4 separate regions of the Homo sapiens genome follow, and regions 1, 3 and 4 are each linked to region 2. Evidence: promoter capture Hi-C in 16 types of primary human blood cells and fetal thymus (Javierre and others, 2016). All regions are on one chromosome and are shown on one strand. Each heading gives the region's core, a stretch centred on a gene start or on the middle of the fragment in contact. The rest is flanking DNA. Distances are from core to core; before and after follow the strand shown. Region 1 overlaps CUBN (cubilin). Region 2 holds the start of TRDMT1 (tRNA aspartic acid methyltransferase 1). Region 3 overlaps CUBN (cubilin). Region 4 overlaps RSU1 (Ras suppressor protein 1).

Region 1 (2,700 bases), core at 198-2,697, 330 kb before region 2:
CACCATCGTAAATTGCCAGGTAGTCATGGGAGCAGGAGGTGGAGGGAACCACATCAAAATCACTGAACCTGTGAAATGTACCTTGTTAATACTGATGTTTCCATTTGGACTTCTATTAAATTGTAGCTTTAGCTCTTGCAAAAAAAATGACAAGGAAAAAACTACCAGTAGAGCATTCAAAACTCACTTGATATGAAATATTAGAAATCAAACAGTACTTTACTGATCAGTTCAAAAGTTTAGCCAAATTTGTTTTTAGTAATTACAATACAACAAAAACTGTGACAGCAGCTGGGGATGTCAAAGTGAGTAAGATACAGTCTTACTTTTCAAGGAATTCACAGTCTAGGGCATATTAAAGTCCATCTGAGAACAACTTTTGACAAGTTGAACTGATATTTACTATCCCAGCAATACTTTAGTTTTTTAGGTCTCATTAAAAATACCATATTTACTCTTCCCTTGTTATTTTATGAGATGAAGTAGAACTTATGGGAAGCATGTTAATATAATAGAAGAAATGCTGCTTTTAGAATCACAGCTCCATTCTCCTCACAGTCTCATTTTCCTCTTTTAAAATGAAGTTTATGTTAAGGTCAGGTGAAGAACAGGAAATTTACATTTAAGACCTCTGTGGTGGTCACTGACACTTCTGCACATGGTCCCAGCTCTCTGCCTCCCCAGCACTGGTAGGATTGCCCTAGGGGCACACTTTGAGGCTTGACATGGCTGCTAGGAGTTGCTTTGACCACAGAAATGTAAGCAGAAGGGATACATATTACTTTACGGAAGAAGCTTTACAAATGACTACTTGCTTTGCCACACTGCCTTCCCACTGCAGTGATGATCATGGAAGCAAATGTAAAAACGAAGCTTCCATCAGCCTGGGTTGTTGGATGACCACGATGAGCAGAGCTTCCATGCCAGGCCACACTGAACATGCTCATTACAATGAGAAATCAACTTGTTGAGTTAAGCTGCTGTGAGGTGGAGTTGTTTGTTACTATGTGCATAACCTATCCTGACAGATGCATCCCTAACTTTTCTCTGTCTTATACAGTGTTTAATTCAGGTCTTATTCTTTGTCATTTCAAATAACGATTTCTAGAGTTCCTGAACAAGCAAGGCTTCTTACATGGATTTACTTTAGAGTTTTGTGGTGGGTTTATTATAGCTTATTTTTAAAACTTGTTTAAAAAAATAATATTTGATATCCTGTCCTCATTTTTATAGGTTCTTCTGCTTTTTCTTTTTTTTTTTGAGACAGAGTCTCACTCTGTTGCACAGGCTGGAGTGCAGTGGCACAATCTCAGCTCACTGCAACCTCTGCCTCCCTGGTTCAAGTGATTCTCTTGCCTCACCCTCCCGAGTAGCTGGGATTACAGGTGTCCACCACCATGCCTGGCTATTTTTTTTAATTACATGTATATTTTTTAGTAGAGATGAGGTTTCTGCCATGTTGGCCAGGCTGGTCTTGAACTTCTGACCTCAGGTGACCTGCCTGCCTCAGCCTCCCTGTGCTGGGATTACAGGCATGGGACACCATGCCCAGCCTGCATTTTCAATTTATTTTGGCAGTAGCTCTAATAAACAATCCATAATATGGAATAATTTTGAAAATATAGACTAAATAATATATATTTATATATAAAATATATAATAAATGCTTCCTTTCAACAGCCTTGAGAAAAAAAATTGTTGGTTTTTTTTCTAAAAGGTTTTGGTTGGTTGAAGGTTTTCAGACTGATGAGGAACAAGATGAAAACCGTATTGATTTTCTTTTACCACATTTAACATTTAATGTTATTGTAAAAGATCAGGGAAGAACAATAGCTAGATAATTTCCAACAACACTGTATTCATTTTAATTCTCTACAGACAACACATTTATTTTTCACAAAAAGAATCCACAAAGAGAGATAAAATCTGAGTTTCTAAGAGGACTTAAATCTGCTTTGGCTTTTTATTTTACATCATTTTCCCAGGAGAGCACAGAAGAGATCTGAAAAGCCCATTGACAGAAAAGCTTGTGTAACCACAATCTTTTGAGAGCCTTTTATTAATGTCTGCATCTTCTACCACACCTAGAATCTTATCTGTTTCCTAGAATGTAGGCTCTTAGTGCGCAATAAATAATTTTCTAAACCTGCAGATGTAGGCTGGGTGTGGTGGCTCACACCTGCAATCCCAGCACTTTGGGAGGCCGAGGCAGGTGGACCACTTGAGGTCAGGGATTCAAGACCAGCCTGGCCAACATGGCAAAACTCCATCTCTACTAAATATATATATATATACAAAAGAAAAAATTACCCAGGCTGGTGGCACACACCTGTAGTCCCAGCTACTCAGGAGGCTAAGGTGGGAGAATCGCTTGAACCCAGCAGGTGGAGGTTGCAGTGAGCTGAGATCACGCCACTGCACTCCAGCCTGGGCGACAGAGTGAGAGCTAGTCTCAAATAAATAAATAAGTAAAATAAAATAAACATGCAGATGTAAATTTCATTATGGTGAGCTCCAGGATCCAGGCTGAAAACTGAAAAAATACATTTAGATTGTATACATACATATATATATAGATAGATAGACAGATAAAGAGAGAGAGAATATATAACATACCTCTATGAGTTGGTATGTATACCATGGTTGGAATGTTTGTGTTCCCCTAAATTCATATGTTCCCTAAGCTAATGGTATAGGAAG
Region 2 (2,700 bases), core at 78-2,577:
TAAATAGTACTAGAGTTTTGCTTTGATGCTGCTAAGTTTTAAAATGAGAAATAAAGATAGCCGGCAAACAAGTACTAAAAACTTAATGATCATTAACCTAGTCTAGAATTGAAACTCAATAAATCTGCTCAAAAAACTTATACGCTAAACCCATTAAATATTGTCTGTATCTTACAGTTACTCTTGTTACTCTTGGTCCTAAATAAGGAAGCAGGGAAGTTTCAGTTCGGTGGTTGTCTTAGTAATTTAAGAATAAACATGCACCTTCAAAGCCTGTTTGTCATTCTGTATCCCCAGCTCCTAGCACAAAATCTGGCACAGAATAGGAGCTCAATAAATAATTTTGAGTGAATATCACCAAAAGTAAAACTTTCAGTTCCAACTCAGCATGAAAGAAATCAAAAACCTCAAAATCAAAGACGTGCATAAAAGTAATAGTTTGCTTGATAATATCTCGTGATGTCGTTTTAAAGTAATAGTGATAATAATGTATAATATTTGGAGTGGTTACAATGTATCAGGCACTAACAAGCACTTGACAGACTTTAATCCTTATAATAATCATTCTCTTTTAAAACCAGGAAACAGGTTCATCACTGTTCACGAAGTAGCCCAACGTCACACTGCCACCAAGCTGGAACTCAGTTCTCTGGCATCTAAACGCAGAACTACAGAAGACACGTTTCTTTCCAACGATCAGACGTCCAAGTTCTTCAAGCTTCCTCTACCATCCTATTTAGCATTCGCAAACTTCTACCTTGAATTGTAGCTATTATCCCTTCCAAGATCCATCTCTCACCAGGGGAGCCCCTGACACTCCCTCCCTCCCCAGCTGGGAAGCCCCCCAGGATGAAGGACCGAGTCTCCATGCTTCTCGGTGGCTGCACACTTAGAATGGGGGCTTGGCACCAGGCGAGGGTCTCGCCCCTTTGATACCCTTTGAGGTTGATTTACTGCCTTGCGAATCCCGACTCCCAACTGGGCCCTTTGAGGCGCCATGTGCGGCCCCTCGAGCCAGACTCGGCGCCAGGAGAAGGGAGTCAGCGTCTGGAGGGGTGGACACGGCGGCGCGCAGGAGCTGTTTCCAGGACAACCGAGGGCCGCCCCACAGTGTCCGCCCCACAGTGTCCGCCCCTTGCGTCTCGCCGCTCCGCCCCTTCCCGGCGCGGGTGCTCCAACCAGCCCCCGTGAGCGAATAGAGAGAGGGGTGCTAGATGGACTCTCACCTCTCAGCGCGTGGTGCATGCCGCCCACGCCGCTGTATAGCTCCAGCACCCGCAGGGGCTCCATCCCCGCGCCTCAGCCGCCGCAGCCCCGGAGCTAGGCCTGCCGGTCCGTCGCTCCTCCTCCCTCCATCGCGCCGCTCCCTCAGCCTCTGGTTCCGCGGCGTTTCAGTTCCCCCGTCTCCTACCGCTCCAGGCTCAGGGCTTCAGAGGGCCTCGCGGCCTGGGGATTGGCAAGGGTCTAGAGGGGAACAAAGGACGGAAAACAATAAGGCTTCCCGAATGAATGGCAGCCACTCTGTAGCCTGATTTACGCTCCATTTCCTTCTTTGGTGTCAGGGGCCTTGATTGGAAAAGAAATCCAGAGTTCAGTAAAGGGGAGAAAACTGCCTTGGTTTCCAAGTGAATTAACACTGGTTAGAAGCCAGAAAAAAATCATTTTTCAGACAAGCTGCTTTTCTGTCACTTAGAAGCCTGAACATTCAAACATTCTTTCCACAGTGTGCCTTGTTTCCTGCCTGCCCTGGGTCAATAGAGAGAAATTAGACCAGCCTCTCCCCTAGAGAAGATTCCAGAATTATAAGTAAGGACACAAGTCCACTCGCAGCAGAGAAAGCCCTGTGTGCGTGCTGATAATACAGAGGATGTTTGTTGTGTCTATTAGTGGGGTTAATTATGTTTTAGCTTGGAAATTACACCTACATAGAATACACAGTGAATATCATGTAGGATTATTTATGGGTCTTTAAGTGCTATGGCCTTGATTCCTCAGGATGATCCAGTAACCAACTGTTAGAGGCTCATGTTGACGAAAAAAGCCAAACTCCGTAAAATGTTTGAAGAGGTTTATTCTGAGCACAAGGTGAGGACCGTGACCCATGACACAACCCCACAGGGTCCTGACAACATGTACCCAAGGTGGTTGGGCTACAGCTTGGGATTATATGGTTTTAGGGAGACATAAGGACATTAACTGGTATATGGAAGGTGTACTTAGTTTGGTCCATAAAGATGGGACAACTCAAAAAGGGGAAGGATTCCAGGTTACAGGTGGATTCAAAGATTTTCTGATTGGCAGTTGGTTGAAAGAGTTAAGTTGTGACCTAAAGACCTGGAATCAATAGAAAGGAATGTGTCTGGGTTAAGATAAGGTGGAGACCAAGGTTCTTATTATGTAGACGAAGTCTCATACGTAACAGGCTTCAGAGAGAATAATTGGCAAATGTCTCTTATCATGTGTAAAAAGATGCCAGACTCTTAGTTAAATATCTCTTGGATCAGGAAAAGACCTGGAAAGGGAAAGGGAGTCTCTATAGAATGTAGATTTTCCCCACAAGAGATGGCTGTGTAGGGCCATTTCAAAAAGTGTCAAAGAAATTTATTTTAGGGTAAAATGCTTTGATTTAGGGCCTGCTATCTTTCATGTGATGCTATACTAGAGTCATGTTGGAATTTTGGTATCTTATTGCTAAGAAGA
Region 3 (2,700 bases), core at 73-2,572, 280 kb before region 2:
CATTCTTATTAATTCTATTACTGTTGGTTCAGAAAAGAAAATTTTATATCAAAGAAGATCAAGCAATTGCAGGAAAAGCAGATATAATTCTCAGTGAAAATACTTACCTAAACTCTTTGCCTCATATTTGATTTTAAATCCTTGCCCTTCATTACTGTGATCAGAAATAAACTGAACAAACATTTGATTATCCGAGGTGAACAGAGTTGATGAAGCATGACTGCCACAAAAATGACCATTTCCTCCAGGGGGTCCCAAGGGTGGAGAACAGATATCAGGACCATTTCTTAGCTGGAAAGACAAATTAAAATTTCATCAACTCCTTTACATTGCAAAAGAAGGAGTACGCAATTCTTATCCATTTATGTCCCAGGAGAGAAAAATTATCATTTTGTTTTCTGAATGAAGTCTATGGAAAATGTAATTAGAAAGGGTAGCAGCAAGACCTACCACCAAGTAATCCCCCTGGTTGCAAGAAGAATCTCCATTTGGAATCTGGAAAGGCTGTTCAAAATGGACAGCAATGGTCAGGCCACTTTGGACCAGGACGTGCCAAGAACAGTTGAGGTTGGATGGGTAAGTCTCTGGATACTTGGGGGACGTGATGATCCCTCTGTCTGCATGCAAATATCCACCGCAGCCTTCCCACAAAGAAACAAAGGTCGGTTATTTAAATAGCATTGGCAACTGGATTTTTATGCTTTCTTAGTTTTCTTGGGGGGTTTTCAAAGTGGAGGCAATAAAAATGCTTGAAAATAAAGCCAGAGTGCAGGAAATGATTATCATAACAAGCATGTATTGAGCACATGCTATTGGCTACTCAGTTTGTGGTGGTCATTGAGATCTGGGATACAGAGGTAAGTAAACAAGACAAATTACCTGCTTTCATAAAGATTTCTTTATAGATGGGGAAGACATACAATAAACAAATACATGATATGTGAGATGGTGATAAATTCTATAAAGAAAAATGGATGAGAGGAGGGAGAAGGGTACTTTATTGTTAGAGTTAAGTTAGAAAAGCCACGTCATTGGAGTAACATCTTAGCAGAGACATGAATGAAATGAAGGATCAAGCCAGATAGTTATGGGGGAGAAAACATTCCAGTTCAGAAAACAGTGTAAAGGCTTGATGTGTTAGAGGTACATCATGGAAGTCAGAATGGATGAGGCAGAATGAGAGATTCCAAAGGTAGCATGGCTAGGTCATGCAGGAAACTGAAAAGACTTATTCTGAATAAGAAGAGGAAGATGTTGAAGGGTTTTGGGCATCAGAATGGCATGATCTCACTTAAGTTTGAAAATGTCACTCTATGTGCAGTCCTTAGACTGTAAGGGGTGGAGGACAGGGAAGGACAGGAGCAGAGTGTCCAATAAGGAGGGGACCGCCTGAGGCCAAGGAGAGATGATAGGTGCACGGGCTAGGCTGGTAGCAACAGAAATGGAGAGGCGTGGTTGGAATCTAGATACATTGTGAGGGTAGAGCCAGTGTGATTTGTTGATGGTTAAGTGTGAGACAAACAGAAAAGTCAAAAATAACATCAAGATTTTGACTTAAATAATGAGAAAAATGTACTTTCCATTTGCTGAGATTATGAGGAGTGTAGAATTGGGGGGTGGTGGCATGGAAAAGGGTGGGAATAAAGTGTTCAACTTTCAAAGGTGAAATTTTTTTTTCTATCTATCTATCTATCTATCTATCTATCTATCTAGTCTAATTGGGATACAAGTGGTTTTTCGTTACATGGATGAATTGCATACTGGTGAAGTCTATATTTTAGTGCACTGGTTCCCTGACTAGTATACATTACACCTAATATGTAGTTTTTTATCCCTCATACCCCACCCATCCTCCCCACTTCTGAGTCTCCAAAGTCCATTATACCACTCACAGGTTAAATTTGAAATACATTCTAGACCGGGAGCTGCCAAGTATGTATATATACATAGACACACACACATATTTATATATATTATATACATATATAAACACACATATTAATTCCAATGGTTCCACCCTTACTATATACATACATGTGTATACATGTATGTATGTATAATGAGTTGCGATACATAGTAATATATACATGAGAGTGAGAGGGCAGGAGATAAAGGAAGAGGATAAAAGGAGGAGGCATTAATTCTCCAGTTGTCAGGGACCAGAAGCTCATCAGTAAGGGCAGACATCTCACACAGCTAGTTAAATTGTAGAGGTGAAAATGTATCTTAGGTCTAGTTCCAAAGCCCATGCTCTTAAGCCACTATGCAGCCTGCCTCCCTTGAGCGTGAGGAACACAACTTATCTTCAGTTGCTCCCTACTTTATAAAAGGTATATATAAGCATGGAGGAAATATTAGATTAATTTTTAATGTTAGATTGAGAATCTACTTTAAAATTATGTTTTTTGATCAAAACATGAGAGTCTTTCACTCTTCCTTGGACTACTTTATCACCTTTCAGTTAGTTTGGATTTAAGGCTGTTACTGGACTTCACATGTCAAGTTTGAAAAGTCTCAATCATACTGTGCATGATGGTATCCCATATATGGTGCCCGCTTTTGACTCATCAAATTCATATTTCAAGAGCAACAAACTCTTCCTGCCAACCCTCAGATGGCTGACTTCAACCAAGTAATTTATGAGAATAAATGATGACGTTTTGCTCCTTCGATGAGTTATGGATATGAGCTGTGCTCTAT
Region 4 (2,700 bases), core at 4-2,503, 400 kb before region 2:
GAAATTGTCAAACTGTTCATCACAATGATCATTTTTTGAGTACCTGGTCTGCATCAGATACTACATACACATTATCCTTCATTTGAGGAGAAGCTTATTTTTCCCACTGTACCAAGGAGGAAAAAGTGTAGGTGCAGGAAACGTGGAGGCAGCATGGCAGATTTTAGGAATCCTGAAACCCTACATCAAAATAGAGAAACTAGGCAGCAAGAAAAAATTCAAGGACACAATTTACAACAAAACTAGGTTATAAAGTGTCCCCACAAAAAACTCCAAAATACAAGTAGATGAGGACAAGCTACCAGTAACCCAAAGATTGGCATGATATCAGCATGCATGTGACGAAAGCAGAGAGAACCCAAGGGGCAACTAACAAACTTGACAACTGAGAACCCCCGAATAGCTAAACAAATTCACCAGAAAGCCCAGAAGACCTCTGTGAGAATAGCAGCTGAAATTAGGAAGGGTTTGCCCATTCCAACAGCAGGGCCTGCAGTAGGGTCTGATGGATTAGGACAAGTCTAGGCCCTGTGACCTGGAAACTGACCACCTAGGGCTCCCTTGCAGGACAGGGCCTAGAATCAAAGCTGGATAAGACAGAAATAATAGAGACCAATGATAGAGGCACACTGCCTATAGGGTAGCCCTACTCCACAAGGAGCAGTAAGTAAAAATAAAACGCTTTTAAAAAGAGAGAGAAAAAGAGACCAAGGATAGAGAAGATCCAGATAAAAGTGGGCAGAAGGACTGAACCAAGTCATCTGAAAGCAAGCCACTGTATTTCTGAAAACTACATAAAATCAACCAGAGGACAGAGCTCTGTAAAGTTAGAAAAGCTATCTAGAACTAAGCCTTCCTCTGAAAGTTTAGGAAAATTAATTTCATTTAAAAATGAGCAACATAAAAAATATTGGGAGCAAATCCCATAACGTTATTATGGAATAAAAGGAAAAAGAAAGTGTAGAAGAACATCATTGACCATGAAAACTCACTAACCAAAAAGATGCCCAGAACACAGGGCAAAACTATAATTGACTATTTCAAAACAAGGTAAAAAGCCATTACAACAATGATACATGACACAAAACAGAAACATAAATCTGATTTCCAAAAATTCAGCAATAAAGGGACAAAACTTAAGAAAAAAATTAGAAACAAAAAAAATTATTTCAGAAATGAAAGCTAAATTCAAAGACATATAAGAGCAAATAAACACAATACGTAATACTTTACAAGAAACAGAAGTTAAAGTGGGGATTTCTTCTTTTTTTTTTTTTTTTTTTTTTTGAGATGGAATCTCTCTCTGTTGCCCAGACTGGAGTGGAGCGGGGCAATCTCGGCTCACTGTAACCTCCGCCTCTCGGGTTCAAGGGATTCTCCTGCCTCAGCCTCCAGAGTAGCTGGGATTATAGGTGCCCACCACCACGCCCGGCTAATTCTTGTATTTTTAGTAGCGACGGGGTTTTACCATGTTGGCCAGGCTGGTCTCGAACTCCTGACCTCACCTGATATGCCTGCCTCGGCCTCCCAAAGTGCTGGGATTATAGGCATGAGGGATTTCTTTTAAAACAAAGAAATGAAGCAAGAACAGGGATCTGGGCAAAAGTGACAAATATTAAAGATGGGCAAAAAAATCAACATACAGACCCCAGAAAACCATAAAGAACATAAGGAAAGAGCTCATAGACTAAAAATCACAATAAAAATACTTTCTTGAAATAAAAGGTATTTAAAAGTTCTGATATGGTTAGGCTGTGTTCCCACCCAAATCTCATCTTGAACTGTAATCCTCATAATCTTCGTATGTCAAGGGAGAGACCGGGTGGAGATAACTGAATCATGGGGGTGGTTTCCCCCATACTGTTCCCCCGATAGTGAGTTCTCATGAGATCTGATGGTTTTATAAGGGGCTCTTCCCCCTTCGCTCAGCACTTCTCCATCCTACTGCCTTGTGAAAAAGGCACCTTGCTTTCCCTTCCGCCATGATTGTAAGTTTCCTGAGGTCTCCCCAACTATGCTGAATGGTGAGTCAATTAAACCTCTTTCCTTCATAAATTACCCATCTTGAGCCGTTCTTTGTAGCAGTATGAAAACAGACTAATACAATTTTCAAACTTTAAAGAGCATACTACATACCTGGGAAATAATCAGACCAGAATGACCTACGCCCTACACCAAGTCATACTCCAGTAAAATTACAGGAAATAAAATTGTATCACCAGACTTTCAAACAATGCTTTATGCCAGAAGAAATAGAGTAACACATCGACAACACTCCAGAAAAGAAACTGTCGAGTCTCTATACCTGTAAAATTGACTTTCATGTAAAAAGAACACAAATTTTTATGTACTATCCACAGAAAAAACTCTGGGATTATTCTCTTGATGCCTTTCTGAGGAATATTCCAGAGTATAAGCTTCAGACAATCAAAATAACTAGAGATACATTGTCCTAAGGACTCCTAATGCGCATAAAAGATAGGGGTGCCTGTAGAACTAAGACTACGTGAGGGCTAAAGGAGAGACTGTATCATAGGAAATGGCTATATGTGCTGAAAATCTAGATACAGTTCAAATTCTAAAAAGCAGGGAGCCGTATTTCCAAAATTAATACCAGATTAGAGATGTATCGGGTTTCTGGTTAGCAAATAGAGATTCTGGACGTTGTCACTACCATACTCACAGTAAGAAGAAAGCTGA

What was found. Contacts are between HindIII fragments. The CHiCAGO score rates a contact against its expected background, and 5 or more counts as called.
Region 1: a contact is called between a fragment that was not itself captured here and the fragment with the promoter of TRDMT1 in region 2, in 11 of 17 cell types (activated CD4 T cells, total CD8 T cells, naive CD8 T cells and 8 more). The highest score is 14.5, in activated CD4 T cells.
Region 3: a contact is called between a fragment that was not itself captured here and the fragment with the promoter of TRDMT1 in region 2, in 10 of 17 cell types (activated CD4 T cells, naive CD8 T cells, M2 macrophages and 7 more). The highest score is 15.5, in activated CD4 T cells.
Region 4: a contact is called between a fragment that was not itself captured here and the fragment with the promoter of TRDMT1 in region 2, in 7 of 17 cell types (activated CD4 T cells, total CD8 T cells, naive CD8 T cells and 4 more). The highest score is 16.3, in activated CD4 T cells.

What each region holds. Positions count from the first base shown.
Region 1 is chr10:16,869,786-16,872,485 of GRCh38, forward strand. CUBN (cubilin) reads right to left here. Exons shown (of 67, transcript NM_001081.4): 59 at 1-68. Among named protein-coding and RNA genes, the nearest start is that of RSU1, 54 kb to the left of the region's middle. The HindIII fragment of the contact is 1,153 bases long and covers 872-2,024 here.
Region 2 is chr10:17,200,345-17,203,044 of GRCh38, forward strand. TRDMT1 (tRNA aspartic acid methyltransferase 1) reads right to left here and starts at 1,328. Exons shown (of 11, transcript NM_004412.7): 1 at 1,227-1,328. The coding sequence starts at 1,290. RefSeq lists a silencer at 966-1,025. The HindIII fragment of the contact is 5,194 bases long and covers 717-2,700 here.
Region 3 is chr10:16,925,134-16,927,833 of GRCh38, forward strand. CUBN (cubilin) reads right to left here. Exons shown (of 67, transcript NM_001081.4): 42 at 451-641; 43 at 108-291. Among named protein-coding and RNA genes, the nearest start is that of RSU1, 110 kb to the left of the region's middle. The HindIII fragment of the contact is 5,679 bases long and covers 1-2,700 here.
Region 4 is chr10:16,796,593-16,799,292 of GRCh38, forward strand. All of the region lies in intron 2 of RSU1 (Ras suppressor protein 1), which reads right to left. Among named protein-coding and RNA genes, the nearest start is that of RSU1, 19 kb to the right of the region's middle. The HindIII fragment of the contact is 2,324 bases long and covers 92-2,415 here.